Regions from separate parts of the Homo sapiens genome. Here all the other regions are linked to region 5. The links are contacts of gene promoters, found by promoter capture Hi-C in human tissues and cell types (Jung and others, 2019). All regions are on one chromosome and are shown on one strand. The core of a region is centred on a gene start or on the middle of the fragment in contact, and the rest is flanking DNA. Distances in the headings are between cores, read along the strand shown. Region 1 overlaps ATF1 (activating transcription factor 1). Region 2 overlaps DIP2B (disco interacting protein 2 homolog B). Region 3 holds the start of SLC11A2 (solute carrier family 11 member 2). Region 4 overlaps DIP2B (disco interacting protein 2 homolog B). Region 5 holds the start of GPD1 (glycerol-3-phosphate dehydrogenase 1). Region 6 overlaps DIP2B (disco interacting protein 2 homolog B). Region 7 overlaps TUBA1C (tubulin alpha 1c).

Region 1 (2,960 bases), core at 166-2,665, 670 kb after region 5:
TGCTATGGTTAAAATAAGTTTAATTAAAAGTGGATATTCAAGCTCTAACAGCCTGGACTCCTTGGGAAAAACAAGAGGCACCAGAGACCCCTTTCGTGGCCCTGTTCTTCCAAGGGCTCCACCCTGAAGCCGGTAATCCAATTAAGAAACTTAAAAACTGGCAAATGAAAAATCTTACAACCACTGTTATCATCATCATCTGTCTTTCTGTGTAGCTATATAGGTGTCGTGTGTAATATTTATATAAAAGAGCTCTGATTAATCAGCTTAAACAAAAATAAACATTTAAATCAAATATTTTGAAAGCAAAATAACTAATGCCTTTTAGTTCATGTAACTTTAGTAATCTTTAGGAAATAAACACATCTTTAAAATTGATAAAAATGTTAATCTTAATTATGCAGGTCAGATATTAAGTTTGTTAAATGATTTGAGGTCATAAACTGTTTCTTTGACTTTTAAAAATTGTTCAATTTACCCTACCTTAAAGCCATTAGATTCTAGATAAGGCCTGGGGACATGTGGAGTTAGCCACGCCCCTAAGCTGTGCTGGAGAGTCAGCTCTTATCTGCACTTCTGCCTGGTGTGTCCTAGGCTAGGCTCCACACCTAGTACATAATTAAAATTGCTTACTAACCAGGGTTTTCACCAAAAGTAAAAGTCGCTAAAAGTTAAAATTGGAACATGTAACTGAGACTATTGAAGAGACAGTTTTACATGTAAGGTGTGTAGTAAGGAAAATAGAATGTACTTTTGGTAAAAGATTATAAGAAGGCATGGAAATGTGGGGTTTTTTGGCTAAAGAGTTAAATAATTATTCTAAGTTGGCCGGGCACAGTGGCTCAAACCTGTAATCCCAGCACTTAGGGAGGTCGAGGCAGATGGATCACCTGAGGTTAGGAGTTTGAGACCAGTCTGGCCAACATGGTGAAACCCCATCTCTATCAAAAAATACAAAAGTTAGCCGGGCATGGTGGCGCACACCTGTAGTCACAGCTACTCGAGGCTGAGGCAGGAGAAGCGCTTGAACCTGGGAGGGGGAGGTTGCAGTGATCTGAGATTGCACCACTGCACTCTATCCAGCCTGGGTGACAGAGCGAGACTCCATCTCAAAAAAAAAAAAAATTCATACAGGAAGCATTATCAAATGTCAAATGGTGTTTTGCTTTCTTTGGATTATATTTACATAACTGTATTATTGGTATATGTTCCAAAGTTATGGGAAACTCCTATAATTCTAATATGATTTAGTGTATGTTATTAATAATTATAATTGTTATGCAAAATATTGTGTGCCACAGAAGTAACCAAATTTCCTTATCATTTCTGGCTTTAATAGTGGCTCTCCTAAAACTTTTTATCATCCACAGACAATTGTTGTCTTGTTTTAATCCTGTTTAGAAGATGATTTATAATCAGCTATAGAACTCTAGCAGGTGTTCTTAAATGCAGGTTTCTAATAACTTTGGAAATTGTAACATTAGAATAGAGGAAACAACTTTCAGAACTCATGAAGAGCTAGAATGTTCATGAATATCAAATGAAACATGAGTTAATTGAATCAACTGAACCAATAGAAAACTGAAGTAATCTTTGATTAAAATGTTGCTGATCCTTTGTTTTGTTTTTCAGAGTCAAGGAAACTTTTCATTTGAGCTATTTACAGTTCATAGCAATTGAGTAAAGTATACTGCTGTGAACGAAATTTGGAACATATTTGTTTCTCTATATCAGATTTCTCCAGAATTTGGAAACTAGTTGTGAGTATTCTTAACTTATGGCAATGTAATTATTTGCATAAGTGCAATAAGAATCTGTTTTCTTTTGTAACAGAATACAATTGGAGAAAGTGGTTATTTTACCAAGGCTTTGACTGAAATGGTGTGCTTTTCTTTAAGGAATCAAACTTGACTTGTAGAGCCAATAAAAGCCCTTTGGGGAACTGGCCTCATACCTTGCCTACACAGTGCCTGTACAGGGTTTCTGACCTATGGTAAGTAAAGAATGTCACTTTCTCACCTGTCCAGGAGCCCCAAGTTATCTTGGGACCTCAAAAGGAGAGAAATTTACCCAAGTTATAGGTATTTAAGGGTACAAACCCATGTCAGGGCTTGGCTTTTAAAAAAGTCTTATCTGAGATTCCTTATGAAACAGAGTTCCATCAAAGCCAATTAAAAAGCCTATGTGAAAAATTATTATTCTTGCTGCACTTTATACAAACAATCAGGCCAAGTATAATAAAGCAAGTCAGTCTTACCATAATTTGTCTTTAGTAAAAATGGGAAACTGGAGAGAGAAATACTATGTTTCAAAAACTATGGTACACTTGTTATTAAATTCTGGTCTCATTAATTGTTTTTAAGTTTGTTTCTGCAATTTAGGCTAACCCTGCGTATTCTTGTAAACCAACCAGTAATCTCTAATTGTTGCTCAGAAGAAATAAGAGGGATGGGTAATTTAAAAATCTGGATCAGTATTCTGATTCTGGGCACATTACAATCAGCTAACAACCCGATATCAGCTTAGTTCCAGTGGTTGCCTGGTTCATGAAAAGTCTTCTAATTTAGTTTATTTGGAATAACTTTACTTATTTTGCTTTACTCTTTTTTTTTTCTTTCTTTCTTTTTGAGACAGAGTCTTGTTCTGTCGCCCAGGCTGGACTGCAGTGACACCATCTTGGCTCACTGCAGCCTCCGCCTCCTGGGTTCAAGTGATTCTCCTGCCTCAGCCTCCCAAGTAGCTAGAATTACAGGCACACATCACAACGCCCAGCTGACTTTTATATTTTTAGTAGAGATAGGGTTTCACCATGTTGGCCAGGCTGGCCTCGAACTCCTGACCTCAGGTAATCCACCTGCCTCGGCCTCCCAAAGTGCTGGATTACAGGTGTGAGCCACTGTACCCAGCCTATTTTGCTTTACTCTTGTGGAATATATTGCTGTTATACTTTTTGTGTAGGA
Region 2 (2,883 bases), core at 234-2,733, 520 kb after region 5:
TTGCATTTGTTGTATATGCACTAATTTGTGCATCATACATACTTTTAAATTTAACTTTGTGGAAAGGAGAGCCACATGAGTAAATAAGACAAAGCATTGAACCAAGGGGAGGGGATGTGGGAATTCCAGTCCCAGGTTCCAGCACAGGTGTTAGGGTACAGAAAGTCCTTTTAATTATCCCATCCAGAGCCTGAACTTTGTCTTCTCTTACTTTTATGTGGTTCGTATAGCAGTATAAGTGAATACCTCAGAAACCAGTTGTACTCATTTGGTAAATTGAAACTCCAGAGAGAAATCGTTGTCAGCCTTGCTGCATTCCATTTTGGGATATCTTAAATACCAAGGAAGCTGGGGATGCCTAGGAACTTGGGGATCTCTGTCATGGTATACAACATATTGCTATGCAAGATTGGTTTTGGGACAAGCTCTACAGTATTCTACAGGAAGTCAGCTCCAAGCCTGTGGGAAATCATACATAGCAAAATCCTTGGCAAAGAACCATACATTCCCCCCCCCAACCCCCTGCCTCTATATGGGGTAGTTCTATAACTCTGTAATTAATTTTATTTTTACAGTGGAAAACCACAGAGTAAGAATAATGCATAACCTATTTCTGTTTCTTGCTATTTTAGGGGACATCACCCAGAAGGGCTATGAAAAGAAAAGGTCCAAACTCCTATCTCCTTACAGCCCGCAGACACAAGGTAGGCAATAAAAAATGGTTTCAACTTTTTCAGTATTTTTACACCAAAAGATGCTGTCTTACAAGACCTCTATCTTTTGTTTGTTCCTGTTTTTCCCTCCCTTCCTCACCAGGGGAGAGAAAAAAACGGAAGGAAAGAAAGGAGGAAATGAATCTTAATGAGCATCTGCTGTGTGCTAGGCACTTTTAAAAATACCTAAGGTCATCAGATAATTTACACAGAACTTGGGTGGTAGTGTGTGAAAGACTATGCATAACTGAGATGATTCCATGGCAGAAAATTCCAAGCCATGGAAAAACCACATCGTATTTATGATGGTGCACAAACCGTGATGAAGAAGAGCAAGAGGGAGGAAGGAAGGACAGATCCCCTATCGAATGGCAATACTTGAGGATTGGGGGGTAAAACCCTAAATGAACTTGTAGATTAATTCAAAGCCAGACTTACTGCTTCTATAGAGAGACTAGCACATTGTTTATATATCAGAAAGTCCTGAATTAATTTCATGCTTAATGCCAAAGGGGTTGCCATAACCTTTGCCTCTAAGCAAGGCTGTCTCTAAATAATCATCATATTTTTAAAGTTACTCAGATTGCAGGATTTCCTTTGACAGCCTATTTCTGCTTATATCACTTTTACTATAGGGTGTTTTGTCTTTATTTCTGATTTTCTACCCCCTTCAACCAAAGTGTGTTTCTGCAAGCCTGTTCTTTGTGGAACTAATGGCTTTTTTTTTTTTTTTTTACTGAATTATAAATACCATGAGGACTTTGTATCTCCCACAGTTCTCATAGTAAGCTTTGCACAGGGTTTATGGCCTGTAAATATTTGTTGAATGAACAGTGGAATAAATAAATAAATAATGGTGATATACCAATATATTTCTTTGATGTGCTTGTTTTATTTCCTGTATTGTTCTTGGAAATACCTTCATAGAGAAACTAGTAGGTCAATACACTGACAGCTAATTTAAGATATCTCAATGAATAGGTGTATGTAGAAATGAATTGAGAGAAAAGAGGTGGAAATTGGGCCAGCGACAGCTAGTGAAAAGCCAGCTTTTGCTGAGCAAGGCATGACCTAGGGGTTGAGGAGGTTACCTTGATTTGCTGCTTATTGTGGATCTGGCCCATGCCTCTGAAGGCCCAGAGATTTACTTGAGTCACTTGGTGTAAAAGCAATAGCTCAGCAAGAGGTATAACTGTAAAAAGGACCACAGTTTGTTATCCGTAGTCAGGCTACGCAGAAACCAAATCATGTTCAAAAATCAATTTATTAATTTACTATGAGAAATTTTTTTTTTTTAGACAGATTCTTGCTCTGTCACCCAGGCGGGAGCGCAGTGGTGCGATCATGGTTCACTACAGCCTCAATCTCCCAGGTTTAAATGATCCTCCTGCCTCAGCCTCCTGAGTAGCTGGAACTACAGGTGTGCGCCACCACACCCAGTTAATTATTTTTTGTAGAGTTGGGGTCTCACTTTATTGCCCAGGCTGGTCTTGAACTCCTGAGCTCAAGTAGTACTGCCATCTCAGCCTCCCAGAGTGTGGGGGTTATAGGTGTGAGCCACCACGCCTGGCCTACTATGAGAAATCTGTATGGTCAGCACATTCTTGCCCCATGGGCAAGCCTATAATGGGAACCAAATCATTTGCTTAGTGAGCATGCATTTGATGAATCAGTTGTTTAATTGCAGTAGGCCAAGAGAATGTGGCATATCCCTCCCCCAGTAGGGATGGCCTTGCAGGTGACCTCACAGGGGAAATAGAAGGCATACGATGACAACTCCTTCAACTTCCTGATGCCACACTTCCAACATCTGTCCCCTTCCATGATTACTTCCTTCCTTCTGGTTAAAAAGATTATCTGTTCCTCCTGGCCAAGGACAGTCCTTCTACCTATGCTTTAGATCCCAACCCCTCCTCCTTTTCCCCAAATCTTATACTATCCAATGGCACCAAGGATAGGGCAGTGAGAGCAGTCTACCTGGTTGCAGTCAGTAAGGCACACAGTATCTGTAGAGAACTTAAAAAGCAATGATGGGCCGAGCGTGGAGGCTCACGCTGTAATTCCAGTACTTTGGGAGGCCGAGGCGGGTGGATCACATGAAGTCAGGAGTTCAAGACCAGCCTGGCCAACATGGCGAAACCCCATCTCTACTAAAAATACAAGAATTAGC
Region 3 (3,137 bases), core at 508-3,007, 920 kb after region 5:
GGCAACAAGAGCGAAACTCCGTATCAAAAAACGAAAGAAAGAAAGAAAAAGATCCTACTTTGTAGATATAATTCTCTAACCTTCACTGAGTCATAACTGAACCAAAGCTGCCTACTAGCTTTGTAGAGTAATCCAAGGGACCACTGCTGATTTCCTAACATTAGAGTAAGATTAGATTCATAAGAAGCTTCCCCATTCCTTAACAAGAAGTGCTGCCAGGCTACCCAGAAATTCCCCTCCCGAGTCCCACTGCCATTCCGGAAACATGAGAAACCAAGTATGCTGCAATCATGGCCTTTTTAGTACTGGCTCCAAAATAAACTGAGTAGGCCAAGCAAGACTGTCAATGAAATACTGTCCAATGAAAAAATAAACAGCCGAAGGTTTCAGGTTTCATTTACCCAACACAGGTATCACAATAAATGACCTAGTATAATGATAGTTTCCAACCGTATTTAATAAAACAAACACGCAGCAGAAATCCTCTAGTCACATATAACTACACTATACCCTCAGATCAAAGTTAATGATGTCAATGGAAAGTATAGGCCGGCGGGTTCACTGGTGATAAGTCATGAGACTCTGAGCAAAGAATAAGTAATAAGGTTAGAATTCTTTAGAAGTGTTAAGGGGAAAGAAGGTAACAACAACAAAAACTCCTCCACATCAAGAGTTCTAAGTACTTTGTTGTTTATTAACTAATTTCATACCAACAACCCTGTAAGACTGATATTATCAATCCCCATTTTAAGTACGTGGAACAAAAGAAGAAAGAGGCAAACAACATGCTCAAAGATTTACAAAGCCAAGAAATCATGCGAACTGGTGGGGCTTCGGGTTCCAGAAGTCAGTGTAAACATAGCTTCTCCATTTTTCACCAACAGTCACTAAAATTGAGGCCAGCAAGTTTTTAGAAGCCTATCTCCCCTTGCAAACTCTCCTTCCATATAATTTTTGCTTTTGCAAGAGATGTCACATTTAAGCGGTAGCTTTAAAAGTGGGGACACATGAAACGCACAGCTGGGAGAGCCATCCAGCCCACTTACATATGTGCAATATCCCCCTGTAGAAAAACCCTGCTCATTGGAGCCTGGAATCCAGAGGGTCCCTGAGAGCTACACAAACAGCCTTAAAACCAATCTACCCACAATTACTGAGCCGCGTATGCAGGCTATTCACACAGAAGGCGCTCCCTGAAGTCGGTTAGGTTATAATGAGTCTTTTGTTGAAGCGGGGCGGCGGGAGGCCCCGGAGAGCAGCCCGGCCCCCTGCGGCGCCGACGAAGAGGCCACGAAAGACCTTGCCCTGTGCCCGTCGGCCTCTTTCGAGGCGTCGAAGCAGGTCAGCGCACCCCGACACAGGCCGGGCGCGCCATCCGGTGCAGCTGGGAGCTGGGCCATGTGTCCTAGGCCGCGGCGGGGAAGGGGCGAGACCCCCGCGACCTCCGGCGTTCCCTCCCTGCCCCCATCTTTGGGTCTTTCTCTGAATGGCGCGACTCCATCAGTCCTGGACTCTGGGCCTGAGGCCCTCCCTGGCCACACCTCCCCTCACAGCCCCGCACGGCGAGCCGGTGTCGCATCCTAGCCCCGGAGCCTGACCCCCGACACAGGCCCTCGAGCCGCCCCGCGCCCCTCCCTGCCAGCGAGCGGAATGCCGTGACCCCTGACCTTGCCTTCCCCTCACCTTACCAGCTCCGCAACCACCTGACACGCCGCCCCCGCGCCCAGGGCTCCATATTCCGGGAGCCAGCGCCACGCTGGCTAACGCCCTCCCCTCCCCGCGATTGGTCGACAGGACGGCAGCCGCACATCCCTATTGGCTGGAGTCCCTGCAGCGGCCGGGATGCGTGGCCCGCAGACCAGGGACCTAGGCTCCGCCCACGCGGAGTCTGGATGCGGCGGCCCCTGGGGCACGCGGCGGCCCCTGGGGCACCCGGCGGGAGCTGCATGCTGCCTAGTTGCTGCTTGCGTTGGCCAGACCCACACAGCCCCTGGACTGGGGAGCTCCAGTCCGCTAGCAGTCTGGGGACAGATAAGATTCCTGCCCTAGTTCGCCGTGGCGCCACGTTAGGTACTGACAATCAAGCTACGAGGTATAGCTCTATCCTGTAAAGGGTAGCCAGGCCAGGCGCGGAGGCTCACACTTGTAATGCCCAGCACTTTGGGAGACCGAGGCGGGAGGATCACTTGAGTCCAGGAGTTCGATACCAGCCTGGGCAACATAGTGAGACCCGGTCTCTACAAAAAATTTTAAAATTAGCCAAGCAAAGGCCGGGCGCGGTGGCTCACGCCTGTACTCCCAGCACTTTGGAGGGCCCAGGCGGGCGAATCACCTGAGATCGGGAGTTTGAGACCAGCCTGACCAACATGGAGAAACCCCGTCTTTACTAAAAATACAAAATTAGCCGGGCGTGGTGGCGCATGCCTGTAATCCCAGCTACTCGGGAGGCTGAGGCAAGAGAATCGCTTGAACCCGGGAGGCGGAGGTGCAGTGAGCCGAGATCGCGCCATTGCACTCCAGCCTTGGAAACAAGAGCGAAAACTCCGTCTAAAAAAAAAAAAAAATTAGCCAGGCATCACGGCGCCCGCCTGTGGTCCCAGCTACTCGGGGGCTGAGGTGGGAGAATCACTTGGGCCTGGGAGGTGGAGGCTGCGGTGAGACAAGATCGTGCCACTGCACTCCAGCCTGGGTGGCAGAGCAAAACCCTGTCTCAAAAAAAAAGGATAGCCACCTGGAAGGAACATTTCCTCGCGCCCCCAGAGCCACATCATAGTATCTGCTGCCCCACCAAGAGCACCCCACACCTGGGAGGAACCGAGAAACATCAGCTAGTGCAGCCAGTTTGACCGCCTTAGGTGTCCTCCCAAGCCTCCGTAGTGAATTGTTTTCCTCCTCGCCCAGCTGACTCGATTCTCCCCAGACTTCATCCTACCTACCCAAAAGCAATCCCACTCTATCGCCAGTTTCAGCCTCACACCGTATCTTTTGCTCTGAAGATGAGACTGCCAAACTGGTGAAGAGGGAATAAATGGCCTAACAAATTACCGTAATTTTCTGCAATGTCGTTTACAGCCACCAAAAACATTAGATCCTCCCGCCACCCTCACTCCCCGACCCCTCGCACTGCTTACAGCATT
Region 4 (3,092 bases), core at 416-2,915, 590 kb after region 5:
TCTTGCTTTGTGATGCCCAGCTAGCCCCTTTGTGGCATGTGGCAAGTACGAACATGATAAAAGCATTAAGTGGGTTGGAGGGCAGTTTGGCAGTGTCTGTTAGCATTTTAAAAGCATATACCACAGCCGGGCACTGTGACTCAGGCCTGTAATCCCAGCACTTTGAGAGGCCAAGGCAGGCGAATTACTTGAGGCCAGGAGTTCAAGACAAGCTTGGCCAACATGGTGAAATCCCAACTCTACTAACAATACAAAAATTAGCTGGACATTGTGGCGCACACCTGTAATCCCTGCTACTCAGGAGGCTGTGCAGGAGAATTGTTTGAACCCAGGAGGCAGAGGTTGCAGTGAGCCGAGATCGCACCACTGTACTCTAGCCTGGGCAACAGAGCAGGACTCTGTCTCAGATAAATAAATACATACATACATACATACATACATACATACATACATACATACATACATACATACACCAGTCCCAGCTACCCTGGAGGCTGAGGCAAGAGAATCACTTGAGTTCAGGAATTGGAGGCCAGCCTGGGCAACATAGTGAAACCCCTGTCTCTTTTTTTTTTTTTTTTTTAAAGCATATGCCATATGACAGCAGTACTACATGTCCATATAGGGAAATACTTGCACAAGTCCAGGGAAGGAAGTAGGAATGTGCTCCTTGAAACATTTTTTGTAGTAGCAAAAAATTGTCATTAATAGGGAAATGCCTAAATAATTGTGATATAGCCAAACAATGGAATACTGTGCCGCAGTTCAAAAAGAATTATGTAGATCTCTTATACTGATATGCATAGATTTAGCTTTAGAACAATTTAAATGAAAAAAACAAGTTACAGATATATGTATAATATGATGTCTTTTATGTTAAAAATACTTATATATTTCTATGGGAACAAATATCTATGAAAATGCATTGAAAAAAGATTGGAAGGATATCTGTCAAATTTGTAACTGATTATCTCTGGCGAGGAGAGGAGGGAACCAGGTTTGAGGGTAGGTATTAAAGGAACTTCAATCTTATATTTAATATTTAAGATTGTTTTCAAAGAGTGTGTATTTGAGTATTACTTGTATAATTAAAATTGCTAACAAAATACCAGCTCAATTTTAAAATACTAAGTATGTATTTTGTATTGATTACTTTTCTTCTTTCTTTGTTTTTCAGAATGTAATGAATAAGATGCACACAATCAGCGTACCCTACTCTGTTATGAAAACCTGTCCTCTCTCTTGGGTCCAAAGAGTACATGCTCACAAAGGTAGTCACCTGCAACATCTGAGCTTTAATTATGTGACTGTTTGAATTAAGATTTCAGGGATTTCAGAGATTTTCAAATTGCCCTTGTATGCCCCTGTCCCTTAACAAATTGTAGAGTTTAGTTACTACAGAATTAGGTACCTTGCCTGTTCATCTCACTGATGTCCTCTCTTAAGCATTGAGATGAATTTTTTCCAAATGCGAGCCTTGAATTAGATTTGACTGTCTTGGTATTCACAGTTTCCTTGGCTGGGACACTGTGACCTGCCTAGAGGGTCTCAGTGAACAAACAATTGTAGGTCCAGTCAGTTGTCTAAATGTGATAATTTCTGCCTCTGAGCTATTGGCACAATCTCTTTGAAACCGTTTTTATCTTCTCCAAGCAAATATCATGATTCCCCAAATAAGTAAAAATGTTTTTATTGTGGTGTATTACATATGTCCCAAATTTATTGTGTATGTTAACTTCATCCTTTTTGAATTTATAGCCAAGGTAGCTTTAGTAAAATGTCGGGACTTGCACTGGGCTATGATGGCACATCGGGACCAAAGAGACGTGAGCTTGAGTTCCCTCCGAATGTTAATTGTGACTGATGGAGCTAACCCCTGTGAGTATTTCTTCATTGTGGATCTGGGAATATCCTGTGTTTTGATAGATTAGGGTTTTTCGCCCTGTACTAAGATATAATTCACATACTGAAAAACTCACTCATTTAAGATGTGTAATTCAGTGGTTTTGGTATATTCACGAGTTGTGTAACCATCATTACAATCTAAGTTTAGAACATTTTCATCACCCAAAAAGAAACCACATGCCCATTATCAGTCACTCGCCATTTTTCCTCCTGCCCCAGCCCTAGATGACTGCTAATCTATTGCCTGTCTCCCTAGATTTGCCTATTCTGAACATTTCTTATAAATGCAGTCATGCAGTATGTGGTCTTTGTGATGGGCTTCTTTTTCTTAGCATGTTTTTAACGTTCATCCATGTTGTAGTATCTGTCAGTACTTCTGCATTCCTTGTTACTACCAGGAAATCGTCCATTGTATAGTTATACCACATTGTATTTACTCATTCATCTTTTGATGGATCTATAAGCTTTTAAGTCATTCTTTTTTGCTCATTCATGTATAACCTCTTTCTATCATGTAACTGGGTATTCCTGTGTTACCTGCTTTTCTCTACAAGCCCCCAAATCCTGATCCTTCACACAGTAGAATCAGGTAGAGCACTACACTGTTTGTCATAAATGGACTTTGTTAGTAGTCACATTGATCATCATAGTTTAAAACACAGACATGGGCTTGACCTTAATATCATATAGAAGGTGGAGCTAAGCCAATATTAAATTGCACTGGCTATGACAGTTCCTCAGGAAGAGTTGCTAAATTATAAACTGGCTGCATATTGCCTGCAGTGTTATCTCTGATACTGATTTGTCAGTTTAATAGGAGCAGCCTTATTCCAAGGTGTAATTTTAAATAGTGTCAGTGACCTTTTATGGGCTGGATGAGCATTAATTTGTCCTTGAAATATATCAAACCATCTCACAGGGACAGTAAAATATTTGCGTGGAATTAACAATATACAATATGAGTTCTCATGAGAAATAAGTATGTCAGCTTTCTATTCTTTACCATTTTCCTACAGTAATGAAAAGCATAATTTCAGCTTCAGGTTGATCTGTTCCAACTCCTTAGGGTCCGTGTCATCCTGTGATGCCTTCCTGAGTCTGTTCCAAAGTCATGGACTGAAGCCTGAGGCCATCTGTCCGTGCGCCACGTCTGCTGAAGCCATGACTGTAGCAATCCGCAGGTACTG
Region 5 (2,778 bases), core at 211-2,710:
CAACTACTGATTTCATGTCCGTTTCCCTATGGGAAATTACTGGCCATGGAAGGAGAATATGGTTGGTTTTTCCTGGGCAGTCCCCGGAACTTAGAAAGCCATTTCTCCCCAGTCTTGACCTCCTGCCTGCTTACTCCTACCCATGGGTTGCACACAGACTCCCCTGTAGCCCAGTGCTTGTTACCAGTTGCTGGCCAGCAACAGCCCAGGGGGATGGCAACACCCACCTAGCCGTCTGCCAAGCCAGGAGGTCAGCACATGAGCACACAGTGGTGTCTGCCCTCTAGGCCAAGGTGCACAGTGTTAGGAGCCTCTTGCTCCACTCTCCAGATCAGCCTGGAAACCAGAGCTTCCCTCGTCTTAGACAAACAGATGGCCGTGGGCGATGCAGAGCCCTGAACTGCTGAGGGTGCTCCTTCCATTCTCGCCCTTCCCCAAAAAACATACACCAAACTTACCCCCAATCACAGCATCTGAGACCACAAAGCCCCACGGACACAGCTGCCCCGGGTACTGCCTGCCTTCCCCTTTTCTGGCCTCTGCAAACTAGCCATTCACCTGATGAAGCCCCTGGGGCAGTACCTTGGAAACCCCTGAGAGGAGGAGTTGAAGGAGGCTCAAAGCCTTTCAAGGACAGTGTGCACTCTGCCTGCCTCCTATTCTCTCCTGTCCTCTTAAGCCCAGAGTCTACAACAAAATTGTGTACCGCAATTCTCAGAGCTCTCTAACTTTAACCTTTCCCACCTTCCCTAGAACACATTTTTGGGTGGGGATCATCTGAGAGGCCCATGGATGAGTCCCCAAGATGACCTCTGTGGGTGACCAAGACAATCTTGTCTTTTGAGGCACCTGGAGTCTCTCATCCTTTTTTGAGCTGGGCTGTCCTCAAAGCAGGCCCTTACCTCTTATGTGGCCTCATCTTTAGAGGTGGGAAGTGGGCCCACATCCCCCACCCCAGCCCTGCAGTGGAGCTAGCGTGGGCCTGCTGGAGGACAGAACTGTGGAACAGGGTCCTGTGAGGATATGTGGCAGGGTTGGCGGGGGGATAGGGGGTCATGGAGGAGCCTACCTCTGAAAAGCATTCCCCTAGCTGCTACTGAAGCTAAATACAATTTATTTCATGCTGGGGGACAGAAAGGAGCAAGGGAGAGCAGTCACCTGCTCCTTATCTGGGCTATTTTCTTAGCAGACCTCAAAATGAGACCATGGTGGGAAGCTGGGCTGGGGCCAAGGGAAGAAGCTTGCCAGCACTGTCAGCCGATGAGCCCAGGAGAAAAAGCTGGGCCTAGTCTCTGCCCCATTCCTGTTCCACACCTGTCTGTACCCCTGTCTCTCCTTTCCCTGGCTCTGCCAGACTCTCTATCTCCCTGGGCGCCAGCCTCCCCACCCACCCCTGGAGGGCGGGGCTTGGCTGCACCCACGTGTGGTGGAGTTAAATGCTCCTAGCCGGCAGAGGAGCTAGGGAGTGTGGCACTGAGCCGGCTCAGGCAGAGACGCGGCACCATGGCTAGCAAGAAAGTCTGCATTGTAGGCTCCGGGAACTGGTAAGCAGCTCTGTCAAGTGATATGGGGGAAGGGTAGGCCCCCCAAGACAGAGGTGGGTAGGAGGCAGAATGGGTGGGAAAGGCCCTCAGGTTCCTGTTCAGCCCCTGCTGCTATCTTCTATCATAGCAGCACAGGACAGACGGTGCCCGGCCCTCTCCTGACCCCCGCCCTCCTGGGCAGCTGCACCTGTTCACCATGGGAAGGCGTCTCCAGAGCTCTCTATGTGAAGAGCCGCTTGAGTTTGGGGGTGGGAAGATGAGAAGTGGGGCTCCCTTCTCTAGTAGCAAAGGGTGAGGAGACTGAGTCTCCTTTCTACTGCCAGGTCACTGGGGACTATTTGTCATGGGAGTGGAGGTGATAAGGAAGGTAGGTAGGAGTGAACAGCCTGGGGGGCTGCTGTGAGATCCTGAGGTGGGGCGCTGCCCCAACTCCTGCCACTGTTCCCTCCTCCTGTACTTTCCTGTGCTCCCCCTCCCACCAGGGGCTCAGCCATCGCCAAGATCGTGGGTGGCAATGCAGCCCAGCTGGCACAGTTTGACCCACGGGTGACCATGTGGGTATTTGAGGAAGACATTGGAGGCAAAAAGCTGACTGAGATCATCAACACGCAGCATGAGAATGTCAAATACCTGCCAGGGCACAAGTTGCCCCCAAATGTGGTGAGCCCCAACACCCTGCGAAGAACAGGGAGAGGAAGGGAGGGCCAGGAGTTGGAGCCGACCTTACTCAACAGGTGCCTCCTGCTGAGAGGGCCGCTTCAGGTGCAGCAGGACTTGGGAAGGTCTCAGGAGGGCTGCTCTGGGCCCTTTCCTGAGGACTGAGGAGAACCTATGCTTTCCCCTCACAGGCTCCCAGGCGGGTGGGTGGGGAAGGGATGGGAGAACAAGTTGGTCTCCATGGCAGCCAAAGACTGGGCTCCCAGACTTGGGGTCCAGTAGTGCCTGCCTCCGGCACTAATCCTGTTACTCATTCACTGAGTGAGTAGCCGACTTGGAGGCTGCTCCTTGGACTTACGGTCTTTGGTCAAATCCACGTGGCTCTCCCCACCTGGAAAGGGGAAGCAGGGAAGAGAGCAGAAAGGCTGGGGCTCCCCCTTCCCAGCTGGGGTTCCTGAGGAGCTGGGTGATGAAATCTTATTTGAGCTCTTTCTTTTGCCAAGCCCAGGCTGCTTTTGGCCTCCCGCACTGTCCCACAGCCAAGGGATAGGAGAGTGCTGGGATGAGGTTTCCAGGA
Region 6 (2,888 bases), core at 156-2,655, 560 kb after region 5:
TCTAATTTTAACCTAAACCACAAAGTAAACAAAGTTGGCAAATCAGACCTCCATAATAAATGTGCTCTAATTAATAGAGTCAGATCATTTTAATAGTGTATTTTATGATTGGTGTGGGGTAGGACCAATGGTCCACAATTACTTGGGAGACTAGTGAATATCCAGTGTTCTTTAAGCCAAAGTACAATAAAAACCCACTGTATCCGGTTGAATTTGTTTCAATACCTGATTGTAAAATTTAAGGTTTGCTGATAAGAGTAATGTTATGGTTACCATTTATTGCATGCCCTCAGTGTACCAGTCAAAGGGCTAAGTGCTTAACATATATTTTTTTCATTTTTAGTTCACTCAACAGTTTTCTACCCCATTTTACAGAAGAGAAAACAGGTTTAGAGAGGCTCAATAACTTGCCCAGACTTCTGTTTTTAGACATATCAGTTAGATAACCTGAAAATTATCTCCTAGAAAGATAGGGGAAAGAAAATGTTCTTTTAGAAATACTGGGTAAAATGTAACCAGCTTTTTAAAAAATGTATACAGGAGCAAGGGAGAATGATGAACACTGAAAAATCAGAATGGTGAGGTGGTGCTTACTTCCGCTGGGCTGTAGGGAGGAGAATCAGCAAGCCAGGGACCTTAATGTTAACTATAATGATAAAACCTTGGGCCCATCTAAGGTTGCAAGCTGGAATTAAGATCCCTGGAGGGACTTGCATCTTTAGCAGTTGGGTGAATTAGAAAAAAGGAACCTGTCAAAAAAGCTTGCCTGAGGCCGGGCGTGGTGGCTCACGCCTGTAATCCCAGAACTTTGGGAGGCTGAGGTGGGTGGATCACGAGGTCAGGAGATCAAGACCATCCTGGCTAACACGCTGAAACCTTGTCTCTACTAAATAATACAAAAAATTAGCCGGGCATGGTGGCGGGCGCCTGTAGTCCCAGCTACTCGGGACGCTGAGGCAGGAGACCCTGTCTCAAAAAAAGAATAAAAGGAATTAGCAAATTCCTGGGCTCAGGCCATCCTCTCAAGTAGCTGAGACTATAGGCACACACCACCACACTTAGCTAAGTTTTGCATTTTTTGTAGAGACAGGTTTTTGTCATGTTGCCCAGGCTGGTCTCAAACTCCTGAGCTCAAGCAGTTCATCCGCCTCAACCTCCCAAAGTGCTTGGGATTACAGGCGTGAGACAATGCGCCCGGCCAACATGCTAATTGTTTATATGTTTACTAATTGGTTATAGATGGATTGTAGGCTTCTGGTGACCAGTATTCAATGGTGCCTTGTTAAAATCACAGCAGATTATAAACTGAAAGGCAAACTATGTTTTCAGAATTGTTTTCTGTTGCGTATTCGTTATATATAAGAGCTTAGGGAAGATGTTTTATTTATAAGTGATAACAGTCATGAGTTTATTTTTAATCAGAGCAGAATCAGTAGGGAAATGATAAATTTCTATTATTTAATTTTGCCCAAATTTCTACAAATTCATAACAATTTCCTGGGTGACAAATTGCTTTTAAAATAATATTTAAGGGACCTTGTTTTGATTTTTAAAAAGATACAATCCCAGAGCAGTGCTACATTTTATGTAGACTTCACTACATAATCGTCTTTTAACTTTACCCGGATAGTTTCTTATCTGTGACCATAGGTTGAGTTATTCATAGTAAGCACCTCATTTCTCAGGTGGCATCATTTGGCACAGTATTATTTTCTTCTACCAACTGTTAGTCAGTTTCTGCTATCTTTCCCTTCATGTTTATAGGAAGCAATTAGCCATTTAAATTACTCTTAGGAAAAATTTCAGGTTATTCCAAATCAAAAAGAAATACACATTCCTTTTAACCATTCTCCTGGGGATTAGAAGAGGAATTAATGTTGATTGGCCAGGTGCTATGGGCTGGCACCAGTATGGGTGCTTTCTGTACAGTGTCTTTGTTCATGGTCTCCCAGCTATGGTTAGGATAAAGGCAAGTTTCCTTAGCTTGTCTTACAAGGCCCTTGGTGGCCCAATGCTACCTACTTGTCCAGTCTCATCTCCATGACTATCAGTCTTGCATCTGTGCTCTGGCTAGTCTCTGTTTCTTTAATATCTTTAAAAAGTTTTCTGTCCCCTCCAAGCTTTCTCGCGTGCAGCCCCCTCTACCTGACGCTGCACTCTCCCTACCTCTGGGCCTTTCATAACTAATCCCTACTTAGCCATCAGGCCTTGGGTTAGGTCTTACTTCCTTGGGTGCCTGCCTTGAACTCCTCTAACTCATCTCAGTCCCATAAGAATAGGGACTATGTCTTCTTGCCCAACTTTTTATTCCTACCAACTACTGTAGTGCTTAGTGTGTTTGTCAAATGGACGAATAAGTAAACAGTCTTCTCAGATGGGTAATTTTATCCCCAAGTCACATAGCTAGTAAGAGGTGGATCCTAGAGTTTGAATGGAAGACTGACACCAAAGCCATGTTTTTTTCCACTACGCTAAGCTGCCCCATAGTTGTAAGTCATTAAACACTGAAGACTGGCAGACAAACAGGGTAACTGAATTGAAACAATACACCTAATTGCATAATTGATCCAATATAGAAACATAATGAAACCCATTTTCCATAAACCTAATCATGAAAATACTGGTTTTACTGTCTTTTTAAAATTGGGTTATTCTGATTTTAAACTTAAACAAATTAAAATACATATAAATGATACAATAAAATGATACAATAAAAGCAGCCCACAAATCCAATGGAGATTGTGGAATCTTGAGATAACTTACCTTGAAAATACTTTATTCTTAAGGTCAAATTCACCTATCCTAGGGGCCCTATCCCAACTTCCTCTCTGTTTTTTTTAACATGTTTGCTAAGACAGGAATATTTGTGTCCCGGGGTACAGTTGAAA
Region 7 (2,741 bases), core at 75-2,574, 830 kb before region 5:
CCCTGTTCTGTGGCCACAGCAAGAGAACCAGAGGCTGCCTTCCCAGTTACCAAAACTTGAGCCCTGTATGCAAGCCCAGGCCTTGTGATTCCTCTGCCTAAGGCAATAGTTCATCTTAAAATAGTCTTAGCAAAGGTTTTTCTGCTCAAGGACTTGATTGTGAAAAGTTGTTCTGAATCACTTAGCACTTAAAAGCTTTTTTTTTTTTTTGGAGACAGGGTCTGCTCTGTCATCCAGGCTGGAGTGCAGTGGCCTGATCATCAGTCTTGAACCCCTGGGCTCAAATGCAAATGGTCCTCCCACCTTGGACCCCCAAAGTGTTGATTACAGGCGTGAGCCACTGCGCCTGGCCCAGAAGAGTTTTAAAATTGCAATTGGAGTAGCCATAGATTTATAGAAGTCCTCTGTAGGTTTCACCAAATGTGAACACTAAATGAAACTTTCGCAACACTAAAATGAAACTTTTTTATTTTGCAGGCTGACCAGTGCACCGGTCTTCAGGGCTTCTTGGTTTTCCACAGCTTTGGTGGGGGAACTGGTTCTGGGTTCACCTCGCTGCTCATGGAACGTCTCTCAGTTGATTATGGCAAGAAGTCCAAGCTGGAGTTCTCCATTTACCCGGCGCCCCAGGTTTCCACAGCTGTAGTTGAGCCCTACAACTCCATCCTCACCACCCACACCACCCTGGAGCACTCTGATTGTGCCTTCATGGTAGACAATGAGGCCATCTATGACATCTGTCGTAGAAACCTCGATATCGAGCGCCCAACCTACACTAACCTTAACCGCCTTATTAGCCAGATTGTGTCCTCCATCACTGCTTCCCTGAGATTTGATGGAGCCCTGAATGTTGACCTGACAGAATTCCAGACCAACCTGGTGCCCTACCCCCGCATCCACTTCCCTCTGGCCACATATGCCCCTGTCATCTCTGCTGAGAAAGCCTACCACGAACAGCTTACTGTAGCAGAGATCACCAATGCTTGCTTTGAGCCAGCCAACCAGATGGTGAAATGTGACCCTCGCCATGGTAAATACATGGCTTGCTGCCTGTTATACCGTGGTGACGTGGTTCCCAAAGATGTCAATGCTGCCATTGCCACCATCAAAACCAAGCGTACCATCCAGTTTGTGGATTGGTGCCCCACTGGCTTCAAGGTTGGCATTAATTACCAGCCTCCCACTGTGGTGCCTGGCGGAGACCTGGCCAAGGTACAGAGAGCTGTGTGCATGCTGAGCAATACCACAGCTGTTGCCGAGGCCTGGGCTCGCCTGGACCACAAGTTTGACCTGATGTATGCCAAGCGTGCCTTTGTTCACTGGTACGTGGGTGAGGGGATGGAGGAAGGCGAGTTTTCAGAGGCCCGTGAGGACATGGCTGCCCTTGAGAAGGATTATGAGGAGGTTGGAGCAGATAGTGCTGACGGAGAGGATGAGGGTGAAGAGTATTAACCTGTGTGCTGTACTTTTACACTCCTTTGTCTTGGAACTGTCTTATTTTTGTTCTGTAAATGTCTATTGCCGTAAATTGTTAATAAAATTGAAGTTTCCATTTTAAATGTCGAGCTGACTTAAATACTTGATCCAGTTAAAGTTGGATGTATGAGGCTGGTAGATGAAACCACCTGAGTCGAGGGTCTTGCTCTGTCACCCAGGCTGGAGTGCAGTGGCATGATAATACATAGCTCATTGCAGCCTCGAGCTCCTGGACTCATGTGATTCTCCTGCTTCAGCCTCCTAAGTAGCTGGGGACTGCAGGTGCACACCACCATGCCCAGCTATTTTTATTTCTTGTAGAGATGGGGCCTTGCTATGCTGCCCAGGGTGGTCTTCAACTGGCTTCAAGTGATCCTCCTGCCTCAACCTCTCAAAGTTTTGATTATAGGCATGAGCCACTGCCCAGCTTCTTGGTTTATCTGTTTAATTTGGGCCTGAATTAAGTGGTTATAGAATCATTTTGTAAGTGAGGAAACGGGTTCAGATTGAGCCAGTGCTTCTCTAACTAAAATGGATGTGAATCACCTGTAGATATTAAAATGCAGGTTTGGGGTCAACCTGGTGGCTCATGCACTTCGGGAGGCCAAGTTGGGTGGATCACGAGCCCAGGAATTCGAGACCAGCCTGGGCAACATGGTGAAAACCCATCTCTACCAAAACAAAAATTTGCATGCTGTGATGGCACCTGCCTATAGGTGGGAGGACCACCTGAGCCCAAGGAGGTTGAGGTAGTGAGCCATGATTGCACCACTGCATTCCAGCCTGGGTGACGGAGACCCCTGACTCTCAAATTTAAAAACAAAATGCAGGTTCTAATTCTATAGGCTTGAGGTGAGGCTTCAGACACGTCTTAAATTTTTTTTCTTTGAGATGGTCTCTTTCCCAGGCTGCAGTGCAATGGCACCATCATAGCTCACCCCCACCTTGACCTGGGCTAAGCCATCCTCCCACCTCAGCCTCCCAAGTAGCCAGGACTACAGGTGTGTTCCACCATGCCTGGCTGATTCTTGTAATTTTTTTTTTTTTTTTTTTTTTTTTTTTTGGTAGAGATGGGGTTTTGCCATGTTGCTTAGGCTGGCCTTGAACTCCTGGGCTCAGGCAATCCTGCCTCAGCCTCCCAAAGTGCTGGGATTACAGGAGTGAGCCACTACACCTGGCCCCTAGATACGTTTTTTAATAACCTCCCAAATGATGCTGTTGGTCTGATGTGACCACATGTACAGTAGCAAAGGGTTAGATAACAG

The links. Contacts are between HindIII fragments. The study calls those that stand out against the background at their distance.
Region 1: a fragment that was not itself captured here is called in contact with the fragment with the promoter of GPD1 in region 5 in 1 of the 25 tissues and cell types used here (dorsolateral prefrontal cortex).
Region 2: a contact is called between a fragment that was not itself captured here and the fragment with the promoter of GPD1 in region 5, in 2 of the 25 tissues and cell types used here (aorta and liver).
Region 3: the fragment with the promoter of SLC11A2 here is called in contact with the fragment with the promoter of GPD1 in region 5 in 1 of the 25 tissues and cell types used here (liver).
Region 4: a contact is called between a fragment that was not itself captured here and the fragment with the promoter of GPD1 in region 5, in 1 of the 25 tissues and cell types used here (dorsolateral prefrontal cortex).
Region 6: a fragment that was not itself captured here is called in contact with the fragment with the promoter of GPD1 in region 5 in 1 of the 25 tissues and cell types used here (dorsolateral prefrontal cortex).
Region 7: a contact is called between a fragment that was not itself captured here and the fragment with the promoter of GPD1 in region 5, in 1 of the 25 tissues and cell types used here (spleen).

The regions. Positions count from the first base shown.
Region 1 is chr12:50,768,397-50,771,356 of GRCh38, forward strand. All of the region lies in intron 1 of ATF1 (activating transcription factor 1), which reads left to right. Among named protein-coding and RNA genes, the nearest start is that of ATF1, 5.8 kb to the left of the region's middle. RefSeq lists enhancers at 511-1,011, 1,012-1,512. The HindIII fragment of the contact is 6,244 bases long and covers 1-2,960 here.
Region 2 is chr12:50,625,344-50,628,226 of GRCh38, forward strand. It overlaps DIP2B (disco interacting protein 2 homolog B), which reads left to right. Exons shown (of 38, transcript NM_173602.3): 2 at 633-704. Among named protein-coding and RNA genes, the nearest start is that of DIP2B, 120 kb to the left of the region's middle. The HindIII fragment of the contact is 7,348 bases long and covers 1-2,883 here.
Region 3 is chr12:51,024,627-51,027,763 of GRCh38, forward strand. It overlaps SLC11A2 (solute carrier family 11 member 2), which reads right to left and starts at 1,758. Exons shown (of 16, transcript NM_000617.3): 1 at 1,684-1,758. RefSeq lists enhancers at 718-1,331, 1,332-1,943 and silencers at 1,349-1,408, 1,419-2,138. The HindIII fragment of the contact is 17,071 bases long and covers 1-3,137 here.
Region 4 is chr12:50,694,090-50,697,181 of GRCh38, forward strand. It overlaps DIP2B (disco interacting protein 2 homolog B), which reads left to right. Exons shown (of 38, transcript NM_173602.3): 15 at 1,178-1,271; 16 at 1,759-1,878; 17 at 2,972-3,086. Among named protein-coding and RNA genes, the nearest start is that of ATF1, 68 kb to the right of the region's middle. The HindIII fragment of the contact is 3,836 bases long and covers 1-3,092 here.
Region 5 is chr12:50,102,548-50,105,325 of GRCh38, forward strand. GPD1 (glycerol-3-phosphate dehydrogenase 1) reads left to right here and starts at 1,461. Exons shown (of 8, transcript NM_005276.4): 1 at 1,461-1,544; 2 at 2,027-2,204. The coding sequence starts at 1,504. RefSeq lists an enhancer at 471-520. The HindIII fragment of the contact is 8,009 bases long and covers 1-2,778 here.
Region 6 is chr12:50,665,970-50,668,857 of GRCh38, forward strand. The region is part of intron 4 of DIP2B (disco interacting protein 2 homolog B); the gene reads left to right. Among named protein-coding and RNA genes, the nearest start is that of ATF1, 97 kb to the right of the region's middle. The HindIII fragment of the contact is 3,395 bases long and covers 1-2,888 here.
Region 7 is chr12:49,271,776-49,274,516 of GRCh38, forward strand. It overlaps TUBA1C (tubulin alpha 1c), which reads left to right. Exons shown (of 4, transcript NM_032704.5): 4 at 478-2,741. The coding sequence ends at 1,452. Among named protein-coding and RNA genes, the nearest start is that of TUBA1C, 8.1 kb to the left of the region's middle. RefSeq lists a silencer at 2,211-2,505. The HindIII fragment of the contact is 6,713 bases long and covers 1-2,741 here.